Regions from separate parts of the Homo sapiens genome. Here regions 2 and 3 are each linked to region 1. Evidence: promoter capture Hi-C in 16 types of primary human blood cells and fetal thymus (Javierre and others, 2016). All regions are on one chromosome and are shown on one strand. Each heading gives the region's core, a stretch centred on a gene start or on the middle of the fragment in contact. The rest is flanking DNA. Distances are from core to core; before and after follow the strand shown.

Region 1 (4,639 bases), core at 962-3,461:
AGCTACTCAGGAGGCTGAGGCAGGAGAATCGCTTGAACCCAGGAGGCAGAGGTTGCAGTGAGCTGAGATCACGCCACTGCATTCCAGCCTGGGTGACAGAGCAAGACTGTCTCAAAAACAAAACAAAACAAAAAAACCAGAAAGAAAGAAAAGAAAAGAAAAGAAAAGAAAAAGCACACAACTCAATACCCACTTTCTAAACCGTGTGATTTTGATTTAGTCTTATTTGATTATGAAAAGAACAGTATTGGTCAGGTATGGTGGTTTATGCCTATAATCCCAGCATTTTGGGAGGCCGAGGCTGGTGGATCATTTGAGGTCAGGAGTCCGAGAACAGCCTGGCCAATATGGTGAAACCCTGTCTCTACTAAAAATACAAAAATTAGCCAGATGTGGTGGCGCATGCCTGTAATCCTAGCTACTTGGGAGGCTGAGCCATGACAATCGCTTAAACCCAGGAGGCTGAGATTGCAGTGAGCTGAGATCGCACCATTGCACTCCAGTCTGGGTGATAGAGTGAGACCCAACTCAAAACAAAACAAAAGAAACAAACAAGAAGAACAGTATTATTTTAGGCCACTTAGTTTCTTAAAGTGTTCAAAATTCTTTATATACATCATCTCAATCTTTTGTCAACAGTAGGGCAGGTGCCAGAGGAGAAAAACTGAGGGTGAGGCAAGGGAAAGGAAGCCCCTGTGTAATTAGAGCAAACATCTGACGTCATTAACCCATGTATTCAACTAGACATTGGAATTTAGATGCTAAACTACCAAGAGGTTATCAACTGATGATCATTTGGTCCAGGATCAGTGATTTAGTATGACAACATTTTTGAACTTCAGGTGCAATTTGTCATTTTTTGATAAATTTATCTAGGGAAAAAAAAAGTTATTCCATAAAGATTAACAAACCACTAAGCCAGCAGGGTGAAACCAAGCTATGCATTAGGAAATACAATTCTAAATTTAGCACCCTAAATTACAGCAAGGAAAGCCCTCATACCACCATTCACAAGTCTCTGTTCAGGCAACTTATTTCTGGCAAGCTAAATCAAGGCTGTCAACTGGTTTTTGGTTTTTTTTTCCACCTCAAAATTACATTAATTATTCTGAAAAAAATACAGACATCTTCAACTTGGGGAAAGGTTACAAGTGCCGTGTGTCCTTATAAATGCTTATTTTAAAAAGTCACACGGAAGGGGGTAAAAAAAAAAAAGCAAACAAACAAACCCTGGAAGATTGGAAGATGCAGCAGAGCCCCCTTGCTCCCGAAATAAAACTCCTGGTGGCTGTAACAGCAGCGGCAGTGCTACTCCCGACAGAAGTTTTCAGCTGTCACTTCTAACAGCTGAGCGCTTCCTAGGAGAGAAGCGACAGGCCGAGAAGAGAGGTGGTTGTGGGAGGTCTGAAGATTCAATACTTGAAATTCTAGACTCGAAGGGAAACCCTCCACACTTCGCCTGCACTTACGGGACACCCAGCAAGAGCAGCCCCCGTCTCCCCAACACACGCTCACGCCACCCGCTCCCCGCCACACTCAAGTCCAACAGCTCGAGGAATCGACCACGCGCCCGTTCTCTTTCCCTCTTCAGATCGCTCGGGGCTGCGCTGACCTGGGGCTAAGGGTGCGACCTGCACCTGCGAGCCCCGCAGAGGCCTCACACCTAGGGCCATGACCGCCCCGCCCGCTCCCCTGTCTCAGGCCGCGCGACCCTCAGCTCCTCAGGAGCCCCCCTGGGTCTCCACGCTCTAGGACACACCGCGCTTCCTGAGCCCGCGCCGCCGCCCCGGCCCTGTCACCTCGGGCCCCCGGGGACCCCGGGCCTCACCCCCTCCTCCAGCTCATCCTCAGAGCCCGCGTCCTCTGGCTGGTCCAGGTCTATGTCAAACACTCCTGCCATGTCCTCAGCTTCCCTGTCTCGGAAGTCCGGGGCTGGGTAAAAGCCGTCCCGCCTCCTTCGTCGCCTCATGGGCCCGGACCCGCCGCAGCCACCACAGCCGCTGCCGCCATCACCGGCTGCTTAGGCTCAGTGCGTCTGCGCCTAGGCCTTAGACTGGCTCCTAAAGTTCAGCGTAGGAGCATGCGTACAGGGTTCCGTGAAGCCAAACAGTGGGCAGTGGACATGCGCAGAACTATCGGCAGGATCCAGGCGCTGGCAGAAACATGCGCAAAACACCAGCCGAAGTCGCGCTTGGAGGACTAGAGCATGCGCATTGTCAGCTGGAGCGTTCGGTGGACAGTGAGCATGCGTACCATATCTGAAGTTCGTAAATTGAAATTGAACATGCGTAATTAATCTTTCTGAATAGGAAAAAATATATACACAACAAAACTCTCCGTTTATGGAACATGCGCATTTGTTCTCAGTAAGTTTTTCGTTTTGAAAGTGAGCATGCGCATGGTGAGTAGGTTGGTCCGAAGTTTGAACCGGACAGAAGCGCTGGTCGGCGTCTGGCGGTGAGTCGGGTTACGTGTGGAGAACTCCTGGGGCCCGTGGGGAACGGGGGACCTTTTGGCTTTGCTCTTTACTAGTTCTGTGGCCTTGGAAAAGTCAATAACCTTTCAGAGCCTCAGTTTCCTTATCTGTAAAATGAGGATAATAATAAACCTACTTTGCCGGTTTGACATTTTAAGCACAGAGTCTGTCTCACAACCCACGGCTCATTTCCAGTGCTGCATAGACCTGATGTGAAGTCTTTATCAAAACTTGTCTTTTCCTAGGTAAAAATAATGAGGAACTGCTCTAATGTTTCTTTTGCTTTCTTTCTTTTTCAAATGGAGACAGGGTCTCGCTGTGTTGCCCAGGCTGGTCTGGAATCCCTGGGCTCAGGTGATCCTCCCGCCTCGGCCTCCCAAAGTACTGGGATTACAGGCATGAGCCATTGCGCCCGGTTAATATTTCATCTGGTTTTCTTTCTCCAAGCTGCATCTTTCTTGCTGTCCTACCTGAGCTAAACACAAAATCTTTCTTACAGGTCTTACTAAAGTTACCAGGCTAGACTAGTGGAGAAAGCGTAAGCTATTATTTAGAAGAGAGAAAATTAATGTTAATTGAATGTACAATGTTGAGCACACTTCTGTGTTCTACATGTTCATGTGGTGTGAAGGGTGGTACTACTAATTTCTTCAATCAGCATTTGTTTTGTCTTGTTTTTATTTTTTTAATTTTAATTTTTTTTTTTTCTGGAGACAGGAGGATGTCACTTTGTCACCCAGGCTGGAGTGCGGTGGCAAGATCTTGGCTCACTGCAGCCTGGACCTCCCAGGCTCAGGGGATCCTCCCACCTCAGCCTCCCGAGTAGCTGGGACTGCAGGCGCACACCACCACGCCAAGCTAATGGTTGTATTTTTTGTACAAACAGGGTTTTGCCATGTTGACCAGGTCTGGAACAGCCAGGCTCACGTGATTCTCCCAACTCAGCCTCCCAAAATGCTGGGATTACAGGTGTGAGCCACGCACCCAGCCTCTTTTTTTCTTTTATCACTCCTCAACTGAGGAGAATGTTTTGTTTTAAACATATGTTTAGGAAAAAAGTGATTACAAATCAGATTTTGGAAACTATTGAGCTGTGTATGAATGGATTCAGGTACAGTAAATCACAAATCCCAAAACCATGTAGAGAGTATGAGAACTTCCTTGAATGACTAGCTCCTTAGACAACACAGCTGTTCTATCTCCAATATTATATACGTATGTGGCATTTTAAAATGACTTTTTGGGCCGGGCGTGGTGGCTCAAGCCTGTAATCCCAGCACTTTGGGAGGCTGAGGTAGGTGGAGGTGGATCACGAGGTCAAGAGTTCAAGACCAACCTGGCCAACATGGTGAAACCCCATCTCTACTAAGAATACAAAAATTAGCCAGGCGTGGTGGCACGTGCCTGTAATCCCAGCTACTCGGGAGGCTGAGGCAGGAGAATCGCTTGAACCTGGGAGGCGGAGGTTGCATTAAGCCGAGAACATGCCACTGCACTCTAGCCTGGGTGACAGAACAAGACTCCGTCTCAGGGGGGAAAAAAGACTTTTTATTGATGTATAATTAACATACATGGCATTTTATTTGTTCTTATTAGTAATGTAGTGGTTCTCAAAGCGTATTTTTTTCGATTACAGGTTGTTTTTAGAGGTAATACACCTAGTTTGTGGCTCAGCATGTCAATTGTAACAGTGCAACTTGGTCAGTGTGGCAATCAGATTGGTTTTGAAGTTTTTGATGCTTTGCTTAGTGACTCACACAGTTCCCAGGGACTCTGCTCTATGAGAGAGAATGAGGCATATCAAGCATCTTGCAAAGAAAGATTCTTCAGTGAGGAGGAGAATGGAGGTAGGTGTGGCCCACAGTCCTCTCCTTTACTCTGATCTAACCAACCCCTTCAAAGCCAGGCCTTCCACATGGTTTTTAAACCCCATTCCTTCCCATCTCACTAGGGAATTACTTTGTTTTTGCTTTTCATTTCTATGTTAATAATCTTTGCTTTTCCAGTGGCATTTTCCCTTCTGCATGCTCAGATCTCACCAATTTAAAACCAACCAAACAAAACTCATCTATTGACTGGCTTTCTTCTTCTTATCTCTTTGCCTTTCATCTAAGATTCTCAAAAGAGGACCCTGCTGGCTGGGCGTGGTGGCTCACGCCTGTA
Region 2 (4,639 bases), core at 1,180-3,679, 370 kb after region 1:
TTCTTTGTCATCTCTACTTGGCTTGGCTTCATTCCCTGATTACTTGGTGCCTTCAAGCTTTCTTCAGGGTGACTTTAAAGGTCGGGGAAGATAGCTCCAGTAGGCCCAGGCCTACATCATAGCCTAAGTACCTCAGCTTTTCTCTCCAAACATGTACACATCGAATCCTAGGGAAGATCTATGGATCAAATGGGTAAGAGTTAGTTCCCACATGGTAAGGGGCACTCAATTATCAAAATACGGGGACGAAAAGGGCTGGGCACTGTGGCTCACGCCTGTAATCCCAGCACTTTGGGAGGCCAAGACACGTGGATTATTTGAGGCCAGGAGTTCAAGACTAGCCTGGCCAACATGGTGAAACCCCATCTCTACTGAAAATACAAAATTAAGCCAAGCGTGTGGTGTGCGCCTGTAATCCCAGCTACTTGAGAGGCTGTGGCACAAGAATCAACCTGGGAGGCAGAGGTTGCAGTGAGCTGAGATCATGCCACTGCACTCCAGCCTGTGTGAGAGTGAGATTCTGTATCGAAAAAAAAAATGGTGATGGGGGGGTGGGGAGGAGGAAAAAGATGCTAAAGAGACAAAAATGACAAAATGTGGAATAATAAAGGAAGTTAAGTATAAATTGTCTTATGAGAGCAACACAAAAGATGTGTAAAAATTACACAATCCAGCTTGGCTTTACTCTCCCAGCATCCACTTAAAATACTCTGCCTAAAGAGTAATTTTTTTCATGAAATGAAACTCACGTTATTGAGAAAATGCAGCAGGATGGGAAATAATCTTGCTTTCCTCAGAGGTGTAGAGAAGGGCAAGAACTGGAAGAGAGTTCCTCCACCAAGGTAAAACAGGCATGGAAAGGGACAGCGATGGGCACAGGTGGGGTGGGGGGTAAATCTACCTTGGGCAGGTACAGCAAGAGACATTAGGTAACAGTCCAAGAAAAGTCAGTACCCACAGCCTGGGCAACATGGAGAAATCCTGTATCTACAAAAAATACAAAAACTAGCCGGGTGTGGTGGTGCAAGCCTGTGGTCCTAGCTACTCAGGAGGCTGAGGTGGGAGGATAACCTGAACCCAGGTAGGTCAAGGCTGCAGTGAGCTGAGATTGAGTCACTGCACTGCGGCCTGGGCAACAGAGCACGACTCTGGCAAAAAAAAAAAAAAAAGCCAGGATCAGTGGCTTATGCCTGTACGCCTGTATTCCCACCACTTTGGGAGGCCGAGGCAGGTGGATCCCCTGAGGTCAGGAGTTCGAGACCAGTCTGGCCAACATGGCAAAACCCCATCTCTACTAAAAATACAAAAATTAGCTGGGCATGGTGTTGCACGCCTGTAATCCCACCTACTCAGGAGGCTGAGGCAGGAGAATCGCTTGAACCTGGGAGGCAGAGGTTGCAGTGAACTGAGATCGCGCCACTGAACTCCAGCCTGGGTGACAGAGCAAGACACGGTCTCCAAAAAAAAGAAAAAGAAAAAGAAAAAAAAGAAAAGAAAAGAAAAAATAAAGAAAGAGGAAGGAAGGAAGAAAAGAAAAGTCAGTACCTGTCATCTCAATACAAAGAAGATGGAATGTCTCAGGTGGTAGATGTTAAGTGTTTCCCTGAATAGATCTCCAAATATGGAGAGTTATCTGTCAGATATTTAGGCTGAAGTTGTGGAGCACACCTTCTGTCCCTAGGTATGATAAGAATAGAGACTGATAAGAACAAGGCAGGCCTCCAGGTCTAAAGAAAGTGTGGTTCTCAGTAGGTTTCTAAGTCAGGGATCCAGGCACAGGGAACAGACAGGGATGTAGTTACAAAAACTGGTTACCAGAAAGCCTGGTTTTGGAGACAAGTAGGAAGTCCAGTTATTGGAGCATGTCAGAGCTAGCCTAGCAATGAGTATGACTTTGTGTGCCAAATCTCTGAATGACGGACATGAGTGCCCTCCTGGGGCTGAGATTTGTTTTAGGGGCTGGAAGGTTGGTATCTGTTGGGAGATGAAGGATATAGAAGTAAGGAGTTAGGCAGGTTCTGACAGACACAAGGAAAGATTTTACTATGCAAGTTGAATAGCATGTATTTTGATCAGCTCAATTCTGAAGCTATAAAGTACAATAAAGGAGATGTTTAAAAAATAAGAGGCCAGGTGTGATGGCTCACACCTGTAATCCCAGCACTTTGGGAGGCTGAGGTGGGTGGATCACTTGAGCCCGGGAGTTTGAGATCAGCCTAGGCAACACGGCGAAACCCCGTTTCTACCAAAAATACAAAAAAATTAGGCAGGCATGGTGGCGCATGCTTGTAGTCCCAGCTGCTCTGGAGGCTGAAGTGGGAGGATCGCTTGAGCCTGGGAGGCCAATGGTGCAGTGGGCTGTAATCATGCCACTGCACTCCAGCCTGGTCAACAAAGTGAGAACCTGTCTCAAAAAAAAAAAAAAAGTGGAAGAATCCACATCTAATTTGAAACACCCAGAGCTGTGGGAATATGATAACCAGAGCACAAGAGGTACAATATTGGGGCACTTAGATAAGGGTAATTTGTATTATTGATTTGTATTCATCTCTAAGATGTGCCTCTCACTGTGAAGTTCCATGGATAAAGATTTGGCTTCAGTTTCTGTCTGGAAACCTGGCACCATTTACTTACAAATTAAAAATACAAGTGAATCATTTACATATCTCCTAGAAACCAAAGAGTTTGTATGTTATACCTCAAGTAATTTGGATAATGCCGTGGGTTGTGTTTTTTTCTTTTTTTAAATTCTAATTAAGCCGTCCATCACTTCAAGGTGATAATTTTCTCAAGTATGCTCTTCTTAAAACGATTGCATTTTATTTAGTATCTTACAGCGTGAAGAATTTTGACTCCTAGGGAAAATCTCATGTAAGTGATCATCTGTTATCTTGAGGGGAGGAGGATGGGGAGGAGTCTTTTCTGATCCTCTTCTTTTGAAAGCTATCACCCTCCCACTCTATGGGATTTAGGTGGGTCTGTCAGATACATGGGTTTAAATCCAGAACCTGCTTGATTCCCAACTTCTGTATCCTTTCTCTCCCCACAGATACCAACCATCTGGCCCTAAAACAAATCTCATCAGTTTATGAACCAGGCAGCCCAATCACAGTGCCTAATTCTCCCTATCACACAATTGGTCAAGGAGGGAGCAAGTGACATAATCTAAATTCTTTCCAAAGATGGATGCAAATGCTGGGAAAGCAAGAGTTGAATTGCTAGCCATGAGGAAAACGTAAGCCTGAGCTGTTTGCTGGCCATCTTTGCTTCCACATGGGGATGGCCTGCCTGGAAATGAAGCCACACAGAGAAAACAGAAGAGCAGTGAAGAGAAGGGTAAAAGGAGAGATCCCATGACATGATTTGCACTCTTAGATCCAGTTATGCCTGATGCAGGACCCACCCCTTGGACTTCCCATTTCCAGGAGCTAAAACTAGACTGAGTTGAGTTTCTGTCACTGACAGTTGACAGAAAATATCAACAATCCAGCCACATGGAGCCTCATGGCAGTACCACTAACCCTGGTCACCACATGAATACTGACCAGAGGTAAGCATTATTCGTTTCTGCTTTGTTGGAGGAACATTTGAGAATCTATTTTGTGTTATGTAATCTTACTTTTTGCCTCCAATGTCTACTTGTTGCAATTGCATGCAATGAAGGAACACAAAATAGACTGAATAATAAATGGGTTTTATTTTAATTGAGCACCAAGGAGTTAATATCAAGCCACAAAACTTTAGACGTTAACTTGCTTTGCTAATCATTTTTGATGACAATATTTTGAAAGAATTTAGTTCACATATGTGCTTGCAAATAAGGTGTAATCTTGCAAGATATTCAAGATTGCTCTGTCACTGGGGGTGAATGAAAAAGGTTTCTCTGTATCACTGGACATTTGAAAGAATGTATAAAAAGTGCAGGATGACTCCTTACTGGAATATAATGTTTCCAACTTTGCTATTCTAAAGTTCAAAGCCAATCTGACTCTTGATCCTTGAGTATGTGTTTTTTCTCCTCTCCAGAGGCTTTGAAGATCCCTTTGTCTCTGATGTTCTGAAGTTTCACAATCGTGTGTGTTGGCATGAGTCTTTCCCCATTCTTGTTCTGAGTGGATCCTTACACTCTGAAAATTGATTTCTTGCAGAACTATTTATTGATGGCCTACTGTGTGTCTGGTTCTATTCTACGCAATGATCAAACATACAAAATCCTTGCCATGCAGGATTTCACATTATAGGCAGGTATTGGACATTCTGCAGTGATCCAATAGGTTCCTTATTTTTTTTCTCTTCAATTTCCACTTTCTTGTCTTTTTTTTCTTCTTTCTAAAAGAGTCTTCAATTTCATCTTCCAATTCCTTTATTAAAGTTTTTGCTCCTGCTATATGTTCAATTTCCAAGGGCTCTGTATTATTTCATAAGTGCGTATCTTCTCTTATCTCTCTGAAGACGTCTTTAACAGTTTTATTATTTATTTATTTTACTTCTTGCATTATCTCAATACCTCTACATTTTGTTGTCCTGTTTATTTGTTTTGGTCTCTGTTTTTTAATGATAAAAACTTTCTTTCTCACTTGTATGTAGGGGGCTACAGAACTAAGAATGTACTGACAGCTCTGTCTGAGACTATGGGACT
Region 3 (4,639 bases), core at 758-3,257, 340 kb after region 1:
AAAAATACTGGTAAATCTATATTAATATTAACTGTTAAAAAGCAATAATAGACCAGGCACAATGGCTCATGCCTGTAATCTCAACACTTTGGGAGCCCAAGGCAGGAGGATTGCTTGAGGCCAGGAGTTAAGAGACCAGTCTGGGCAACATAGCAAGATCCAGCTCTACAAAAAAAAATTTTTTTTTTAATTAGTGCCATGTGGTGGTACATACCTGTGGTCCCAGCTACTCAGGAGGCTGAGGTGAGAGGACTGCTCAAGCCCAGGAAGTCAAGGCTGCAGTGAGCTGTGATTATGCTACTGCAGTCCAGTGTGGGTGACAGAGAGAGACCCTGTGTCAAAATAAAACAAAATAAAAGCAATAATAATAAATACTCAGGCCAGGCACGGTGGTTCACATCTGTAATCCCTATACTTTGGGAGGCTGAGGCGGGCAGATCACTTGAGGTCAGGAGTCCGAGACCAGCCTGGCCAACAAGGTGAAACCCTGTCCTACCAAAAATACAAAAATTAGCCGGGCATGGTGGCGTGCACCTGTAATCCCAGCTACTCGGGAGGCTGAGGCAGGAGAATTGCTTGAGCCCGGGAGGTAGAGGTTGCAGTGAGCTGAGATCACACCACTGCACTCCAGCCTGAGCAACAAGAGCGAGACTCCGTCTCAAAAATAAATAAATAAAAAATAAAACAAAAATAAAAATAAATAAATTAATACTCTAAGTTGAGAGGGTTTTTGAAAAGGTGAAACCAAATTACTATAATAACAGGAAGAATGGGAGGAATAAAGTTTCTCAGATTGTATACTGTTCAAAAGAGGCTGACAGTATCTTAGACCAAGTTGAGCCATGCATGTTACAAATTTAAGAGTAAACATTGATTCAGTAAAAGGAAGTGATATTGTTCTTATAAATAAAAAAAGCAAAAGTAAGTTCTTGTTAATTTTACCACTGTGAAGAAAATATACTTGGTAACTGTGAACTTGCCACCAAAGGTAAAGTATACAAGGAAAAATGGATAAAACAAACTTAAAAAAATTTTAAGCTTCTATGTAATTACAATGAGGAAAAGATTGATTTCAAAATTGTGTAAGCCTGTAAGAAAACAACATGCTTTGTTTACTGATACATTTTTCTATATCACATAAAGCTTTACGTTATAAACCTGAAACCCCACTTTTTTATCAGAGAAACTCCTTTTTAATCGATAATAAGTAAAGGTTAATTTTTTTAACATAACTTTCAAGTCAGTAAGGGTGAAAAATAAATCAGTAACTCAATAGAAGGTAGGAAAGTATAAAAAAAGTAAATACATGGTAGATAAAAAACATTAAATAAAAAACAATAGAAATAAATTACTTTTGCAACTTTTCTGATATAATAGAGAACTTATTTCTACTATGTAAATAACTTAGTCAGAGATATGTGAAGGAGTGAAGAATGTGCCATCCCAAAATATTCCGGATTGGTATAGTAATTATTTGAAATTGAAAACAGTTGAGAAATTGTAATTTCATGCAGCAAGAGATACAGATGCCTCTGGGAGGGGCACCCTCTGCATACCAGAGCGAGCAAACCCTTATCACCAGAGACTTAGAATTGGAGGCTGCAGGCCAGGCGGGGTGGCTCACGACTGTAATCCCAGCACTTTGGGAGGTACAGGCGGGCAGATTGCCTGAGGTCAGGAGTTCAAGACCAGCCTGGCCAACATGATGAAACCCCGTCTCTAAAATACAAAAATTAACCGGGCGTGGTGGTGGGCGCCTGTAGTCCCAGCTACTTGGAAGGCTAAGGCAGGAGAATCACTTGAACCTTGGAGGAGGATGTTACAGTGAGTGAGATCGCACCACTGCACTCCAGCCTGGGGTGCAGAGTGAGACTCCATTTCAAAAAAAAAAAAAAAAAAAGAATTGGAGGCTGCAATGGATCGAATAAATGTACTTGACGAAGTAACCCTTTTCTTCCACCTGTTTTACATCCTCCATACATGTCCGAGTGACTCCCCTAGAAAATTTACTGCCCCTGGCCAGATACTCTTTGTTCTGTCATTTCTTTTCAAATGTAACATTTTTTGTCTAAAAATACAAAAGCATCTTGCTTTGGCTACTTATTCAGACTTCATGCTCTTGTGAATACCCCCATGTACATGTAGAACTAATACAATTTGTTTGCTTTTCCCTTGTTAATCTGCCTGGTGTCAATTTGGTTTCTAGATCTAGCTGAAGAGGCCACTAAGAGCAAAAGGGGGTTGATCTCTGGCTCCCCTAAACATGCACTCTGGTATAGAGACAAATTTGATCCTGAGACCCCCACATAGATCTGAGGCCCTTCCTCTCCTTGCCACCCTAGGTCACAAATCCCTCTGTACAGCTAGACATTATTTTGAACAGAAGCAGAGGGAAGCAGGAAGAAATGTGAAAGATTCTGGATTTAACCAAAAGAAAATTTGTTATTCAAAAGTGACTATTTATTTATTTATTTATTTATATTTTTTGAGACAGGGTCTCAGTCACTCAGGCTGGAGTGCAGTGGCACAATCATAGCTCACTACAGCCTCAAACTCCTGGACTCAAGAAATCCTCCTGCTTTGGCCTCCTGAATAGCTGGGACTACAGGTATGCACTGCCACACCCAGCTAATTTTTAAATTTTTTCTAGAAACGGGGTCTCGCTATGTTTCCCAGGCTGGTCTTGAACTCCTGGCCTCAAGCCATTTTCCTTCCTTGGTCTCCCAAAGCACTGGGATTAAATAGAGAAGTAAGCCACCATGCAGGGCCAAAATAAACTATTTAAACTAAAAAAAGATTGTTGCCTGGAATGACAAGTTTAACGTTTGGTTGGTTTTTTTCCTCTTATTATAGAGCAAGGTGGAAGCTTGCAAGGAAAAATTAGGTCCATGATAGAAATTAAAAAGGAGTATTTTCTTTGCATGTATTGGAATTATAATGTGGGTAAATGTTTGACCCCACTATAAACATTTTTGTAGGATTATTTTTCCACACTGTGTTTTTTCTCCTGGTGTTAATATTTTTCTGCGATTTGCATGCATTACCCCTTTTTAAATTAATTGTAGTCCCCATTGCATTGACCAAGGCGCCACCAAAGCGCCTTGTCAGTCTGGAAATGGCAGGTGTAAAGCATAAAGCAAGGGGCAGAAAGGGTAAGAATAGACCCAGTTCTTTGCAATCACAAGAAAGTGCTCACCCAGCCATTCTGCCCTTTTTAATTTGTTCCTTTCCTCGGATCTAAATGCACTGACAATTAGGACTATAGAAAACCATATGCATCGTGACCATCATTACTCACCGCCCTGACCATTCCCCTGGGTAACACAGAACATTTAATAGGCCTGTCCCAGCATCTGATAACAAAGGAAAAACATATGGCAGATCACGATAATGATTTTGTGTCTTTCTGTAATGATGAAAGAAAAACCTGATCCTGCATAATAATCGCTTTGTTATTCATAGAAGTTAAACGGCATTTCCTCATGAATTTTAATGTGCCATCCATTTTCTCACTACTTATCCCCACAATTCTTTGTGAGCCTTTGCAGAACATTATTCTCTTATCTCTTTCTTTCTTACAGTGATGTAATTATTCTGTCTAAACCATAAGACTTCAGGATGTTGTCTTTTTACTGCATTGGTCACACAGTGCTGGTCTAGGTTGCCATAAATAATCTGAAAAGATCAAGCTGTGCACTTAGGATTTCTGCACTTTTGTTTCCTGTATGTATGTTACTTAATTTTAAAGAGTTTACTTTTTAAAAATTATCTGGAAATCCTGTAATCATAAATTTGTGCCTTTTAAAATAAATTATAATTAATTAGTGGCACTCATGAATCTTTTGTTTACTATTCTAAAAGTTCAGGAACCATTTACAATATTTTTTCTTCCTTATTCTTCTTTAGTGGGCATAATTCATATTGAAATTCAGTCCCATATTATGTGTAGACAGAGTAATCTCAAAATTACATACGACTAGACTAGATTTTTAGCTATTTAAGGACATAAACTGAGTCTTACTTATCTTTGTATTCTATGAAGTATCTATCTAGCTCAAGGACTTCTAAGTAGAAGGCCCTCATACCGGGCATGTAAAGGCGTGAGCCAGCACTTTGGGAGGCCGATGGGGGCGAATCACGAGGTCAGGAGATCGAGACCATCCTGGCTAGCACGGTGAAACCCTATCTCTACTAAAAAATACAAAAAATTAGCCAGGCGTGGTGGCGGGCGCCTGTAGTCCCAGCTGCTCAGGAGGCTGAGGCTGGACAATGGCGTGAACCCGGGAGGCGGAGCTTGCAGAGAGCAGAGATCGCGCCACTGCACTCCAGCCTGGGCGACAGAGTGAGACTCCGTCTCAAAAAAAACAAACAAAAATGGAAGGCCCTCATAAATATTTGCTTATAAAGTAAAAAGTATCTTTTGCAGAAAACAAATCAGTGGTTGCCAGGGGCTGAGGGTAGAAGGGGAAAATTGCTTTCAAAGAGGTACAAGGGAACTTTTTACAGTGAGAGAAATATTCTACATATTGATTGTGATGCTGATTACGGTGTGCATTTGTCAAAAATTATACACTGAAAATTGGTGAATTTAATTACATGTAAGTTATATTTAATTATATGTAATTATAATTAATTTATA

Evidence for each region. Contacts are between HindIII fragments. The CHiCAGO score rates a contact against its expected background, and 5 or more counts as called.
Region 2: a fragment that was not itself captured here is called in contact with the fragment with the promoter of TUBD1 in region 1 in 1 of 17 cell types (neutrophils); the score reaches 5.0 in neutrophils.
Region 3: a fragment that was not itself captured here is called in contact with the fragment with the promoter of TUBD1 in region 1 in 1 of 17 cell types (activated CD4 T cells); the score reaches 6.5 in activated CD4 T cells.

What each region holds. Positions count from the first base shown.
Region 1 is chr17:59,890,515-59,895,153 of GRCh38, reverse strand. It overlaps TUBD1 (tubulin delta 1), which reads left to right and starts at 2,211. Exons shown (of 9, transcript NM_016261.4): 1 at 2,211-2,457; 2 at 4,113-4,323. The coding sequence starts at 4,152. It overlaps RPS6KB1 (ribosomal protein S6 kinase B1), which reads right to left and starts at 2,033. Exons shown (of 15, transcript NM_003161.4): 1 at 1,829-2,033. The coding sequence starts at 1,969. RefSeq lists a silencer at 1,616-1,815 and an enhancer at 2,006-2,285. The HindIII fragment of the contact is 20,828 bases long and covers 1-4,639 here.
Region 2 is chr17:59,525,391-59,530,029 of GRCh38, reverse strand. LINC01476 (long intergenic non-protein coding RNA 1476) reads left to right here and starts at 3,173. Exons shown (of 3, transcript NR_110813.1): 1 at 3,173-3,550. It overlaps LOC105371847 (a long non-coding RNA gene), which reads right to left and starts at 239. Exons shown (of 3, transcript XR_934889.2): 1 at 1-239. The HindIII fragment of the contact is 4,739 bases long and covers 60-4,639 here.
Region 3 is chr17:59,546,198-59,550,836 of GRCh38, reverse strand. It overlaps LOC105371847 (a long non-coding RNA gene), which reads right to left. Exons shown (of 3, transcript XR_934889.2): 3 at 303-332. Among named protein-coding and RNA genes, the nearest start is that of DHX40, 17 kb to the left of the region's middle. The HindIII fragment of the contact is 1,723 bases long and covers 1,146-2,868 here.